3 separate regions of the Homo sapiens genome follow, and regions 2 and 3 are each linked to region 1. Evidence: promoter capture Hi-C in 16 types of primary human blood cells and fetal thymus (Javierre and others, 2016). All regions are on one chromosome and are shown on one strand. Each heading gives the region's core, a stretch centred on a gene start or on the middle of the fragment in contact. The rest is flanking DNA. Distances are from core to core; before and after follow the strand shown.

Region 1 (5,021 bases), core at 885-3,384:
GGGCACCTGGCTTACATGGACACTTGAGTGGAAGTTTGTTAAGAATAGCTGTGGCGTTGCCCCTCTATTCCACGACTGTTCTCAGGCCTACTTGTGTATTTTTACCCAGTATCACTTATTTTTAAATGACAGAAGTTTGGAGCTTCTCAGGCAATGTGATTTTCCTGTGGCCTAAACTGCCTTAGGTAAAGCATCGAGACTAACCCAAAAGGCTATTGCTGGGTCTCTCGGCTCCCTTCCTTATTATCACCAGCAGCCGTACCTTTTCACACACCTCTGCATTTTGCCGTTCCACCCCACCGTCTCTACCAGGACTCAGTCCCATGTGAAGGTGGGTCCTGGGTATGGCAGAGCCTTCCTCATTACCCTCTGCCTCCTCGACCTGCTGTTCCCTCCCTCCTTTCCTGTAGGAGAGCTGCCGCTGTGGGGACAGGTGGGAGTAGGTCAGGAAGCTGGATGGAGGTACACATTTCAAAGTTTTATGTAAAAAATTTGAGTTGGTGGAATTACCAGAACTAGGAGTGAAGCCTTAGCAGGTAGGCCTTTCAGAAATAGTGAAAATGAGTCCCCAAATCTCAATGGTGAATTTTTCTGAGAAATGTTACAGAAACATAAAGTGACAAATTTTTGTCTTTATATTGATAAGATAGATAGATTAGTAGAAATTGAGAAGAGATTGTCCAGGTTTTTTCTGTTGCTTATTTGTATAAGCCCAGTACATTGACGGACTATATTGGGAGTCCCTAAGCAAATGCCTGCAGGGACCAGGCAGTTAATACAGCAAACTTCAGAGGCTCATCTGCTTTAGCCAGTTCTTGCCATGGTATGGTGGAATCATTGTTGCCACATCTGATTTCTCAAGAGAAGCTTTAAAATCCAATTTGTATGTGTGTATGTATGAGTATGTACATGAGAAAGCTTTCAGTTTTAAAATGTTGGCTCAGATTTTTAAAAAGCAGACCAAAGACTTATATTCCACCTCTGCTCTAGACTTAGAGAATCTGTTCAGGATAAAGCTTAAAGAAAAGATGACAATGGAAAAGAGTCATTGGTCAAGTATTAAGTACTGACACTTAGGGTTTCCTGAATATAGTAGTGAGTGCTACTTTAGAAGAGATTCCCTCTAGTTCAAATGCAGTTACAATCTCCAAATACATGCTAGCAACTCACGATTTAAATTCTCTTTGACATAATTTGTATGGTTCAATCTCCCTCATCCTGCTTTTCTTCTTTTTCTTTCTTTCCTTTCCTTTCTTCCTTTCCTTCTCTTTCCCCTCCCCTCCCCTCTTTTTGTTTTTAACAGATGGGGTTTTACTATGTTGCCCAAGCTGGAGTGCAGTGGCAATTCAGAGTGCAGTGGCAATTCACAGTGTGATCATAGCTCACTGCAATCTTGAATTCCTGGCCTGAAGCTATCCTCCAGCCGTAGCCTCCCAAGTAGGTGGGAATACAGGCATGCACCACTGTGCTCAGCTCTGCCCTCCCTTTTTAAAGGTCAGACTGAAGTTTCAGTTTTCTGTATCCATAGAGCTGACTTTGCTCAGGAAATTTACAACTTACCTAATTTGAACGCAGCTGGCCAAGTCTGTATTTCCCTCCAGGAATGTGCACAGTTGTGTTCAGACCGTTTAGCAGGTTGGGGTGTGGAGGAAGACAGATGAATAGTAGGGGCTTTACTCCAGCCTCTAGCTGGGGATTTTCTAAGATACTGTCTTCAGAAAAGGAAACATAGCTCGAAGTTGTACCTACATGGAAGGACCTCATCCTCCAGGTGGCAAAAATTTGTAGTATGCCTGTTAGAATGAGGTTCCTTCCTGAAACTTCTGGGAGATCTAGAATTTAAAGCTATGTCATTCTCTTGTAGGTAATCAGAAATCAATTGGAAATTCCTGCTTGAAGAGATAGATATTCTTGCCCCACCTCAATCCTTCCAGCACAGATTTGGGAGATACCCCCCTTTCCAGTGAAGGCCTAAGTGTCCAGTGCCCCCACTCACCTTCTGAGGCATGTAGGGCCGCACAGACAGCCAAGGCCACGATGGCGAGTCCTCTCTGCTGCATTCCTGCCTGCCCTACTGGCACTGACAGCAACACAAGTGAGGCTGTTCGATCAGGAAATGAGGCTAAAGGTGTCCTTGGGCACAGAGAAAGTGCAGAGGAAAAGTAAGCCAGGTGGCCCCGCCCTGGGAGGTGTTCAGGGTATCTATTTCTCATGTTTCTTTCCTTAAGACCAGGCTCCTCCTCGACTTATTAAGCTCCTAACTTGTGTTCATCCTGCCTGGGGGTCAGGGGATGTCAATGGAGATCTGGCAGCTGGCAGGGTCACTGTGAGGTGGGGTGTGCATCAGAATCATTTGGGGAACATTAAAAAAAATCAATCTAAATGACTCTCCCCTTTCCCTGATTTGTAAACCAGAACTCCCAGGTAGGAGACCAGTCATTTGAATTTTGTAAAAGCTCTATAGGTGATTCTGATGGACACTTATGTTGAGACCCATTGCATAATCAGTTTTTAAGTAGCTTATGGAAACCATGAGTTTCTGGGGACAAGGGTGACAAGTCATAAAAAATGTATCTTTGTGGAAAGATATGGAAGTATTAAACCCCACTTTAGTCTTGGTTCACAGCCAAATTGTTTCCAGTGAAGCTTTTTACAATAGCTTATTTAGGAGAAAGACAGGAAGGGGGGCAATGCCTTGTAGAAAAGAGCCCAAGAGCAGGTGTGAAGAGGCATGAGCGCTAGTGCAGCTTTGCTGCCAATCAGCTTTGTGAATAAAAGCATGGGGTAGCATGAAGATAATTGGATTCTAATTGTTCCTCATCTACTAATAAGTTGTATAACCTCAGGCAACGTACTTAACTTTGCTGTAAATAACAAGTCAGACTAGATGACCTCCAAAGTCATGCCATGCTTCCTCTAGAACTGTGTTGTCCTATGTGGTAGCCGCTAGCCCACATGTGGCTCTTGAGCACTTGAAATATGAGTAGTCCAAACTCAGATGTACTATGGGTATAAAATTCACACTGGATTTCAAAGACTGGGTACAGAAAAAAATATAAAATATCTTGTTAATAATGTTTATACTGTTTATTGATTACATGATAGTATTTTGGACTTTTTGGGTTAAATAAAATATATTATTAAAATTAATTTCACCCATTTCTTTTTATGTTTTCAAATTACTGCTGTGGTTTGAATATTTTTTTCTTCTCCAAAGCTCATGTTGAAAATTAATCCCTAATAGTGCTGGGAGATAGGGCCTAATGGACAATGTTTAGGTTATGATGGCTCCACCCTCATGAATGGATGAATGCTACTATAAAAAGGGCTTGTGGGAATGGGTTGGTACCTTCTGCTCTTCTGCCAGGTGAGTACACAATGCTCCTTCTCTCCAAAAGATGCAGCAAAGTGGCATCATCTTGGAAATAGAAACTGAAATCACTGGAGCCTTGATCTTGGACTTCCCAGCCTCCATAATTGTAAGAGAATACATTTCTGTTATTTATAAATTGCTCAGTCTCGGGTTGTGGTGTTATGATATATATATTGGCTTTTATCCATGGTTCCTGGCTTATAACTCCCATAACCCTTGTTACAGTTTTTTTTTGTTGTTTGTTTGTTTGTTTTTTTTTTGAGACAGAGTCTCGCTTTGTTGCCCAGGCTGGAGTGAGTTTCACCATCTTGGCAAGATGCTGGTCTTGAACTCCTGACCTTGTGATCCACCCGCCTTGGCCTCCCAAAGTGCTGGGATTACAGACATGAGCCACTGTGCCCAGCCCAGTCTTTTTTTTATATTATAATGTTGGGGCACTTTAGGCTTCAGGAACAGGCCTCAGGAAACGGAATCTCTCTCTGACCTTCTGTTTTTCTTTCACCTGCCCAAGGCAGGACTCTAATCTGATTGTGGGTCATAAGATCCTCATTCCAGAAAGGGTTCTGTCCCATACTCTAGAGGAAGGAATGCTACACAGGCCAAGAAAAGCCTGAACAGGCAGGACTTGCTGGGTTTAGATTATGTGCTTTTTGTCTAATCACATTTCTACATGGTTGTTAATCATGCCTATGTAATGAAGCCTTTGTAAAACCCCAAAAGGGCAGAGTTTGGAGAGCTTCTGGATAGCTGAACATGTGGAGGTTCTTAGAGGGTGGCGTGCCCAGGGAAGGCATGGAAGCTCTGCATCCCTTCCCCCATACCTTGGCCTCAAGCGATCCTCCTGCCTTGGCCTCCCAAAGTGCTGGGATTACGGGCATGAGCCACTATGTCTGGCCTTCATCTGTATCTTCTGTACTGTCTCTTATAATAAACCGTTAAATGTAAGTATTTCCCTGAGTTCTGTGAGCCACTCCAGTGTTGCAGGAAGTCAGGAACCCCGAATGGAGGGACCAACCGGCTGAAGCCATGGCAGAAGAACATAAATTGTGAAGATTTCATGGACATTTATTAGTTCCCCAAATTAATACTTTTATAATTTCTTACGCCTGTCTTTACTGCAATCTCTGAACATAAATTGTGAAGATTTCATGGACCCTTATCACTTCCCCAATCAATATCCTTGTGATTTCCTATGCCTGTCTTTAATCTCTTAATCCCATCATCTTCATAAGCTGAGGAGGATATATGTCACCTCAGGACCCTGTGATGATTGCGTTAACTGCACAAATTGTTTGTAGAGTATGTGTGTTTGAACGATATGAAATCTGGGCACCTGGAAAAAAGAACAGGATAACAGCAATGTTCAGGGAACAAGAGAGATAACCTTAAACTCTGACTGCCGGTGAGCCGGGCGGAACAGAGCCATATTTCTCTTCTTTCAAAAGCAAATGGGAGAAATATCGCTGAATTATTTTTCTCAGCAAGGAACATCCCTGAGAAAGAGAATGTGTCAGTGAGGGTAGGCCTCTGAAATGGCCACTTCAGGGGGTGGCCATCTTTTATGGTCGAAGCTGTAGGGATGAAATAAGCCCCAGTCTCCCATAGTGCTCCCAGGCTTATTAGGATGAGGAAATTCCTGCCTAATAAA
Region 2 (5,021 bases), core at 1,216-3,715, 1.6 Mb before region 1:
GCTCCTGGAAATTCTGAAGGCATTAAATGCATTTTCCAAACAGCACAGGAAGTAAAGGTCCATCCCAATGGGTCAGTATTTTTATTCCCTGTTAGGACAAACAGGGTTTGGCTGGGTTCTTCCACAGTCCTCTGTGGAAAACAGAACAGGCTAGGGGGAACTGCCTAGAGGTATTAGAACCATAGTTGGAAAACACCCTTATATGCACCAAGGCTTAGCTGAATATGAGCTTGAATTGGCAAATATGCTGGAAAAATATTGAAGAGTTTTTTTCCTCATTTTTAAAGATTACTTAAAAGACAGTTGACTGTTTAGAGCAAAAATAATAGCAAAGTATTATAAGATTTATATCACGTGCAGAATTAAATATGATAAATAGGGAGGATTAATGGCAACAAAAAAAGGCAGGCTCATGAGCAAAAGTGGTTGGTAACCAGATGTTAGATGAGATCTTGCTGTCTCACTTTTAACTGATAGAAGAGCTAGGGGATACCAGCATGTAGGATAGATGCTCAGAAGTAGAATTTACAAAGGAAATAGTCAAAAGCACATCCCAAGGCTCTTGGGACCCTCAGCAGGCTGAAGGAATACAGTATAGGAATAGCAAAGGTTTTGTATGAAGGATTTATTTCATGAAAAGTATTCTAACTACCCCTACATTTCTCAGCAACCAAGGAAGGGGTAAGGGTATGCCTGCTGCTCACTCCATTGACAAATCAGAGCCTGAAAGATGGGGAGTGCAGATAGGGAGTGCTGCCTGACTCTTACCTGAGAAAATTAAAGGGGCTGTTTTGCGGAAGTAACTACACTATCACTGGAGGCAGTAGAAGAAATGTGAGTGCTTCCCAGATGGGGGCCATGTGAGAGAGGAACAACCTCAACAGGTTAATGCTTTGTCAACAGGATAGCCCAGGAAGAGGGACTCCACCGGTAAGAGTCTATATGTTAAGTGGACCGCAGGAAAGTCAGAAGCTGCTGGGGAAGCATCCAGCCATCACCCATAGGAGCAGCCGCTGCAGGAGGAACCAAGAAGGGGGTCTCTAAAGACAACTGCTCACCCCACTCCACACACACAGAGAGAGGAAGGGATCAGCTTTAAATATTTTTATGGACCAGAGATCATGGAGCCAGCAAACAGGATTACCAGTCTCCTGCTATGTAAAATCTTTCCTGCCCTATTTCCTTGCCTTCCCTTTCTCTTGAATTTTGATCCTGGTGGGTGCCAAACAGTGAGCTGGAAGAGGAGGGGAGTAGAGAAAAAGCAAAAGCATACTATATAACCTTCTTCAAATGCAGGCAGACTGTAGCTGGGAGATCAAAAATGAGGAGATGCATTGCTTTTGAATGATTATTAAAGCATTTTTCACTGTTTTGGAATGGACCCTCTAATGTCTGAATGAAGACTGAGTTTATGAATTAAAGTCACTTAAGAGCTGTTTATTTTCCTAGAGTGAGCTGAAATGTCATGCAGCCTGAGTATTCATTAACAGCAGAGGAAAAGCTTCCCTAACAGAATAGGTTAAAGAGTACCACAGGAGATAAAAATAGCTGTATTTTATTCTATCCCACATTTAGAGCTTGTTCAAAATATTGTAAACAGAAGAAATGCACACACATTCACATACATGCTTGTTACAGTGGATCTCCTAAGATACATTCACTAACACAGAATACTCATTATCAATGTTGTTTTTTAATATAACTAAAGAGAGCAACACTGGAATTTGAAGAGAGATAATTGCTAGAAGCCAAAAGGAAGGTCTCCAAAACAAGAGAGAAAATGATTAAATGCCCTCCTGAAGAGTAAGGTACGGCTGCCCCTTAAACAATCCCAGAGAGCAGCTTTATAAAGAAATGCCAAATAACGCAAGAAAATAATATAGCTTTTAAAAAGCTGATACCAGTGTTGGTAATAGAGTAGAAACAGTGTGAGAGTAAACTGGGATAATTTTTCTGGCCAGTAACTCTGTGATATATCAAAATCCCTAAAATACTGACAAAGATATTCTATTTCTAGGGATTTGTACTAAGAAAACCATCAGTAAATACACAATGACATAAATTCAAACATGTTATTAATGATATTAAACAGTTAGAAAAATCAAACTGACATGAAAAAGTGGCTTTCGGACATTAGACCACACACAGTACGGGACTACCATTTCTGAAAGAAGGGAAGCCAACAAGATAGGTCTACAATTTCCCCCAGCTTACTGCCTGGAGAGAATTTGCAAGCTGCAGTACAGGAAGTCAAACTCAGCAATTTTGTTGGCTTCAGAGAGCCTGAGGCAACTACAATTTGAGATCTGAAAATACCAGAAAGGAGGTCATTATACAGAGTGAGAGCTCAGATTTGCAGAGGAAGAAGGTCTCAAGTCTTTAGCAGAGTATGAATATGTGCATATATGAGAAGAAATTAGTCAAAGCCTGAAAAAGAACCATTAAGCAAGCATTAGGCAAAAAAAAAAAAAAAAAAAAAAAAGCCCAAAACTAACACAGGTCTAGGAACAATTCACAATCCTACCAAACAGTGAGGAAAGATTTTGTAATATATGGAGCATCAGGCAGAGTCCTCCGAAGAAAACTTTCTCAGTAGTGGGGCTATAAATTAAACTGCAACTAAAGGCTACTCTCAACTAATCTTAACACAGCTTAAAAGCAAATATTGAAAAAGATCAACCTGAGAGACATCTATAGAATTTGTGCTACAACAAACATCAAAGGATGTCCTTCAAGCAGAAGGAAAAAAACATCAAATGGCAATCTAGATCTCTGCACAGAAAAAGTGCAACAAACAGAAAATATGTTGGAAAAATATAAAAGATTTTTCCTCATTTTCAAAGATTACTTAAAAAGATAGTCGAGTGTTTAGAGCAAAAATAATAGCGAAGTATAAGGTTTATGTCACATGCAGAATTAACTATCACTAAAGAACACACAATAAGGCAGAAAACAGAAGTTTACTATTGTATAATTCTTACATTATATATAAAGTGATATATTACTTGAAGTAGATTGTGATTAAAATATGTATATGGTAGACCCTAGAGAAGCCACTAAAAAGTAATCCAACAGTGAAGATAAAATACTCAAAAAATACGTAATTGATCCCAAAGAAATCAAAGGGCAAAAAGGACAGATGAAGTAAACAGAAAAAAAAATATCCTGATAGATTTAAACCCAACCATATTGATGACTACATTAATTGTAAATGGTCTAAACCTCCAATTATGATTTAGAGATTATAAGATAACAATCTAACTATATGATTACAAAAACCTACTTAAAAATAAAGGTGTTCATAGGTTACAGGCAGAAGAATGGAGAAACATACTTTGAAGAGTGACTATATCAGCATCAGACAGTAGACTTCAATAAAAGGAATATTATTGAAGAGACAAAATGACAGATCAATTCATTAAGAGAATGTAAGCTTAAATGTGTATAAATGCAAGTAGTAACAGCTCTAAAACAGATAAAGGAAAAAGTGGTATAACTGAAAGGAAAAACAGACAAATCCACAATTATAGCTGAAGATCTCAAGACTGCTCTCTCAGTAATTGACAAGACACAGAACACTTGAACAATACTAACTGCCCATTTGATCCAATTGGCACTTACAGAACACTGTACCCAACAAGAGCAGAATATATATTCAAGTGCAAATGGAACAGTCACTAAAATAGCCTACATTCTGGGCCATAAGCAAGTCTCAAATTTAAAAGGACTGAAACTATAAAGTGTGTTTTCTGACCTCAAAAGAATTAAACTGAAAAATTTTTAAAAAGTTATGTGGAAAATTACCAAATATTTGGAAACTGACACACCTTTAAATAAACAATGGGTCATACAAAAAATAACAAGGAAGATTAGAAAGTATTTTGAAGAGACTGAAACAACATAAAAATTTGTAGGATGTTACTTGCTTATATTAGAGAAAAAAGGTTTCAAATCAGTGATCTAAGGCAGAAGTTGGCAAATCTTTTCTGTAAAGGGCCAAACGGTAAATATTTTAGGCTTTGCAAGCCACACAGTTTCTATCCTAACTATTTAAAGCAGCCATAAACAATACGTAAATGAGTGGATATGGCTATGCTCCAAGAAAAATTTACAAAAATAGGCAGTGGGCCAGATTTGGTACATGCAACACAGTTTGCTGACCCCTGTTAGAATATCAGCTCCATAAATGCAGAGAATTTTGTCTGTTTTGTTAACTACTGCATCCCCAAAAACGTTGTCGTTTATATTTAACAGTGCCTGACCCTTAATATATGCCAGATCAATACATGTTGAATGAATTAGCGAATTTAATCCTCAGAACAAGCATGAGTTAAAAATTGTCATTTTACCAATGAATATACTACAACAGTGATATACTACATGATCAATAAGTAAAGAACCAGTATTTAAGCTCAAGTCTGTCTAATTCCAAAGTTTTATGAGCTTTCCACTACATTACACTAATAAGACAAAGGCATTACTAATTGTAAAAGTTTCATATGACCTCATATGGATTTTCCACCTGTTTTTCTTTTCCTGAGCCTCAGGACCAAATGGACAATACACTAAAGTTAAAACAATGTCTAGAGATTTATGCTTATTTCCTCACCTATGTCATAATATATTTAAATATCTATATTTTGGACTAACATTTGGATTACAATTGATGCAACTAAACAGACTGAATCTTCAACACAAACCCCCTTGTAGTTTTATAACCAGGAATACTAGTGACTTAACTTATTTAAAACAGGTAGCATGTCTAGAGAACCCAATCAATTTTATGTGCTCAGACATGTAGCACACAGGAGTATGACATTAATTAGTATTTATTCTTTTCAAATGCACAAAGATGTGAAAAATGTGAGGGAGAAAAGGAAAAAAATAAAAAAACACCAAAAGTGTCCCATTCTTTCTTGCCATAAGAATGCCTCATTCAATCCTCTCCACATAGAGGAGGGCTCTTGGCTCTTGTGCCACTCACGTACTGCAGCCCTGTCCAGTGGGCTGCTATTTTGTGC
Region 3 (5,021 bases), core at 1,373-3,872, 1.5 Mb before region 1:
GCTAAAAGAAAGGGCTTTAAACAGATTTCAAATTGATGCCCACCTTGCTTTATAAATGATCTAATAAATAACATAAAACAATACATTTAAATTTTAAAATGCAAGACTTAATTTGAAGATATATATTCTAACTTCAATACATTTTAAGTTTAGAAAAATAAAAGCACATCACATTAAGATATAAAGTCTTAATTTATATCTTTATACTAGATGAAGCAAGTCTGCTTTACTTATGAAGGATGGTACCAAAAACATTTGGATAAATGTAACCACCCCTCTTGACCTTGTTAAACACTAGATTTTGATGCTTGGACATATTGCTCATGTGAATAGGAGAAAACTTCATTTCATTGATAAACTCTGTTTAAATATTAAGAATTGGCATTTCTCTCCAGCCAATTGTTTTTAAAATGCACACTTACCCTGCATTGTTGCTGACTGCAGTTAGTCCTTTTACTCCAGTTTTCAGTAAAGCATCTATAAGATTCTCTGGAATTCCACATAGCCCAAAACCTATATTAAGCCCAAAAAATAAACAATTTGTAAAGGGGGTAACAATGTTCTTTCAGAGAAGTGTGTGTTATTCTTTTTAAAAGGGAAATAAAACAAAGCACATTATTAGATCTACTAAGCAAAATACACAGATATATCTCAGCAGCTAAGTAAATGGTCATATAGCTGTATCCAAATGTTTTGCACCATTATATCACATATCACTGCCCAGTCTTTGAACCACAAGTATAAGCCAAGTGCAACCAGTTTATATGGCTACTCATTCCTCAGTTTGCACTTAACTATATATCTATTGTTTTCCTGCTTTGTAAATCAGTTTTTCTACAACTTTTTCAAGAATGTTAATATGTCTGAGTAGATTTTGCATAGTTGGAAGCCTAAGCCCAAAACTGTCATTTCTTTATATTTTCCATGATTACTCAAATTGTATTGGGTTTAAAATGAACATTCAATGACTTACTTGAATGAGTGGAGATCAATGCTAAAAATAATCCTTGACATTATTTATCAGAAGCAGGCAGCAAGTTGGGTGTGGGTGGCTCACGCCTGTAATCCCAGCGCTTTGGGAGGCCAAGGTGGGCAGATGACTAGAGGTCAGGAGTTTGAAACCAGACTGGCCAACATGGTGAAACCCCATCTCTACTAAAAATACAAAAATTAGCCAGGAGTGATGGTGGGTGCCTGTAATCCCAGCTACTCGGGAGGCTAAGGCAGGAGAATGGCTTGAACCCGAGAGGCAGAGGTTGCAGTAAACTGAGATCGCACCACTGCACTCCAGCCTGGGTGACAAAGTGAAACTCCCTCGAGAGTCCAAACAAGAAGCAGCAATAGAATTGGCAGTGGGGGAGGTCAATACATGTCTACGGGGTCTCTGAAGGTGTAAGCTTATGAGATTAATGCAAACATTTTAAGTTAAAAAATTGGGATCTAGGGATTTTTTTCAAAGCTATTAATAAAACCTGACTACTTTGAAGCTTCAGTTTTTCAAAACAGAAACACACAAATACACATACACACACACATGCACGCACACAGAGAAAGTAAAATATTAAGTGCTAAACCTTGCTAAACTTTTAGGAAGGAGACACTAATAAAATAGATGATATTATAATATGTACAATAAATAATGCATAATAAAATAATTATCATTTTTATACATCTTTGTCATTGTGATTTGCCTGCTTCATTTAAAAACATAAGGACATTACCATAACATGAAAACAGTGTTAGTACTCACCACCAACCAAAACCGTGGCACCATCAGGGATGTCTTTTACAGCTTCTACTGGATCTGTATAAAACTTGGTATGGCGATGAGCACTGGTGGAAAAGGAACAAACACATCCCTGAAATATTAAAAAAAAAAAATTGATAATCATTTGGAGATACAGCTTTACTTTGTGTGTGTAGCAATTTATTCAATTGATAGACAAATGATAATTTCATTATCTCCTTTATATATACACGTTTTTAATTGCCAGGTAATAACTGTATATAATGTATATATTTATACAGGTAATACATGTATATATTTATGGCATACATGGTGTTTTTATATGGATAGTAGACCCCCCTTATCCACAGTTTCCCTTTCTGAGGTCTGTCACCCCAGGAAAGTACGGTACAATAAGATTTGAGAGACAGAATGCATTCTTATAACTTTTATTACAGTATATTGTTATAACTGTTCTATTATTAGTTATTGTGACTAATGTCTCATAGTCTAATTTGTAAATTAAAATGAATGATACACATATGTAGGAAAAACAACTTATATAGGGTTTGGTACTACCCACAGGTCAGGCATCCACTGGGGTTTTGGAACATATTCCCCTTGGATAAGGGAGGATACTATATACATTGTTGAACAGCTAAATCAAGCTATTTATAAATGCACACACTTTTTTATGGTAAAAACACTTAAAAATCTCTAAGCAATTTTCTAGTATAAAATATATTATTAACCATAGTCGCCATGGTGTTCCGCAGATCTCTTGAATTTATTCCTCCTAAATAAAATTATGTATCCTTTGACCAACATCTCACCAACCCCTCACCCCCAGCCTCCATAACCACCATTTCACCTTTCTGTCTGTGATACTATCCCCCTCTTCAAAAGCCTGGCGCTTTAAGTGACTCATACTTAAAAGTAGGATGGATATTTTATCCACAGATTATCACTGAAGTCCCCTTGTAACAGATGTCTTCTATTACATAAGGGAAAGTTCTAACTCCATCATTTGTGGCCACCCAAAAGAATGAAAGTAGAAAGAAAAGTCCATATACTGGAATTCAAATTCATAGCAATGGTGTCATCAAGCATCAGTTTCTGGTAACCCAATCTTCCATTAATCAACAAGTATTTACTGTAAACCCACCATGTGTCAAGTCCTGTACTATTTATTCCAACACAGTTAAGTATTAAGACATGAGCACTGCTCTCTAAGAAATTAAAGCCAATATGAACAAAACACATACCTACAGAGTTGGGCCCCAGGTTCAATCTTAAATGTCAAAGAATGCCTCCTAGAGGGACAAAAACACCTTACAAAACAACTCATCCTCCTATGGGGCTTAAGGTTTATGGAGGCTACATAAAAGGAACAAACCATTATCTACAAGGAAGGTAAGTCTAGCCTTACCACTGTGTACTATTTGGTCCCAAATGAGTCACCTAGTGAATATTCATGAGCAATCAGTTGTAAACTTTTCCCTTTCCCCTACTTCATCCACACTATGCACAAAAGAAAACAAGAAAGCAGATTCTGTAGCAATCATTCATACTCAATATCACCTCTCCTTTATTCTCACTATACAGCCAGGCTAAAAAGAAAGAATAACATCTGAATCCTGATATACTGCTACCTTAACATGCCAGTTATGAGCTCACATCCACTGCCTAACAGTCTCCCAGACAGACACAACCTGAAGTGGTCAAGGTGACAGCATAAATATCCATCATTCTTTTCTTCCCCTAAAAATATGCCAGCACACTGCTCAAACCCTGAGAAATAAGTCTAGGCAGAGACAGAAAGGGCTTGAGCCACAAAGAGTTTTCCCTCTTTTCTATTCATCTGCTTCTGTTTTAAACATATATTTTTTAATATATTAGAAATTACAAGTGTGATAGCCTGAATAAACAGGCCAACAGAAGGATCGTAAGATAAAGTTGAGGATATCTCCTAGACACACTTAAAAAGTGCATATATCTAATCCAACCAATTCATTTCACAGGTCAAATTTTTGAAGCTTAGAAGGATCTTGTACTTTACCCAAAACTGTATTAAAGCAAGACCAGATCCAAGGTTTTATTTGGCCTTCTACCTCAGGGCCTTTCTACTACAATATGCTTCTCTCCATGTTTTTTGAAACCTCTCATACTCCACTTCTCATTTTTTGATATAAAATAAATCTTTGTGAGTGTTCTATTTCTTCCTGTATAACTCTGCTGTCATTACCTCCACCCAAAAGTGAAGAGTCAGGCCCTTATAGCTGGAAGGGGAAGAAAATTAAAGAGTTCATCCACAGCTCAACAGTCTGTGCAGTAAGATCACCCTAACTATTTCAATATGCTGAGAAACACAAATCCCACATAGAGAGGAAGTTGGAAGAAAACTCATTTCCCCTATATACCTATAGAGGCTTTTTACATTAAGGTATCCATTCCCTCAAGCATTTATCCTTTGAGTTACAATCCGAATACACTTGAAGCTATTTTTAAATGTACAATTAAGTTGCTATTGACTATAGTCACCCTATTGTGCTATCAAACAGAAGGTCTTATTCATTCTTTCTAATTTTTGGTACCCATTAACCCTCACTACCTCTCCCCTGCCCACAAATAAAAGCATATAACTACAGGCTTGTCAAGAATTCTATTTTTTTGTTTCATCTGATAGTTTTCACTACAGTTAGAAATTACCAAAGAGCTTGCCACACTCTCTGCAAAAAAATATACTTCAAAAGTATTTTAGGGAAGACATGTTTACCCAGATAATCAAAAGTTAAAAGCATAAAGTGAAGATGTTTTCCAGGTAATCTGAGAAGGGCTCAAGACAATGAAGAACCTGCAGGTACTTGTTTTTTTCATTATTCATATATTCAGTTAACAATATTTGTTGACATTTGATATCTATTTACTAACAGGTCAACTTATACTACAACAGATTGTATCCTAAGAAACCCAACATCTAGTTTAGGAGATAGTGTGCCATAATAGATCATGCTCTTGGGATCAAAAAATACCCTTGCTTCAAATTCCAATTCTGCCACAGTTGTATGAATCTAGGAAAATTACTTAACCACTGCATCTCTTTTTCATGGGGGGAGAAGGTATTTTAAGTTTACAAAAAGATGATAATTGTTTTCTAGGAATGTAGTAAGGATCAAATGATGTTATATACAGAAGCCCTGTTGCAGGACTATAGAAGATATCCAGGGGATACTAGCTTCCTTTGGAAAATGCAAACTTTTCTTCATTCTCCACTAGGGCAGTAAGATCAATTTGT

Evidence for each region. Contacts are between HindIII fragments. The CHiCAGO score rates a contact against its expected background, and 5 or more counts as called.
Region 2: a fragment that was not itself captured here is called in contact with the fragment with the promoter of CCL28 in region 1 in 1 of 17 cell types (neutrophils); the score reaches 6.2 in neutrophils.
Region 3: a contact is called between a fragment that was not itself captured here and the fragment with the promoter of CCL28 in region 1, in 1 of 17 cell types (neutrophils). The highest score is 5.5, in neutrophils.

Annotation. Positions count from the first base shown.
Region 1 is chr5:43,410,257-43,415,277 of GRCh38, forward strand. It overlaps CCL28 (C-C motif chemokine ligand 28), which reads right to left and starts at 2,135. Exons shown (of 3, transcript NM_148672.3): 1 at 1,997-2,135. The coding sequence starts at 2,060. The HindIII fragment of the contact is 1,630 bases long and covers 1,015-2,644 here.
Region 2 is chr5:41,785,177-41,790,197 of GRCh38, forward strand. The region is part of intron 13 of OXCT1 (3-oxoacid CoA-transferase 1); the gene reads right to left. Among named protein-coding and RNA genes, the nearest start is that of OXCT1-AS1, 82 kb to the right of the region's middle. The HindIII fragment of the contact is 1,932 bases long and covers 1,500-3,431 here.
Region 3 is chr5:41,860,892-41,865,912 of GRCh38, forward strand. It overlaps OXCT1 (3-oxoacid CoA-transferase 1), which reads right to left. Exons shown (of 17, transcript NM_000436.4): 2 at 1,751-1,859; 3 at 423-513. LOC102723752 (a long non-coding RNA gene) reads left to right here and starts at 2,297. Exons shown (of 3, transcript XR_925956.4): 1 at 2,297-5,021. The HindIII fragment of the contact is 2,275 bases long and covers 1,486-3,760 here.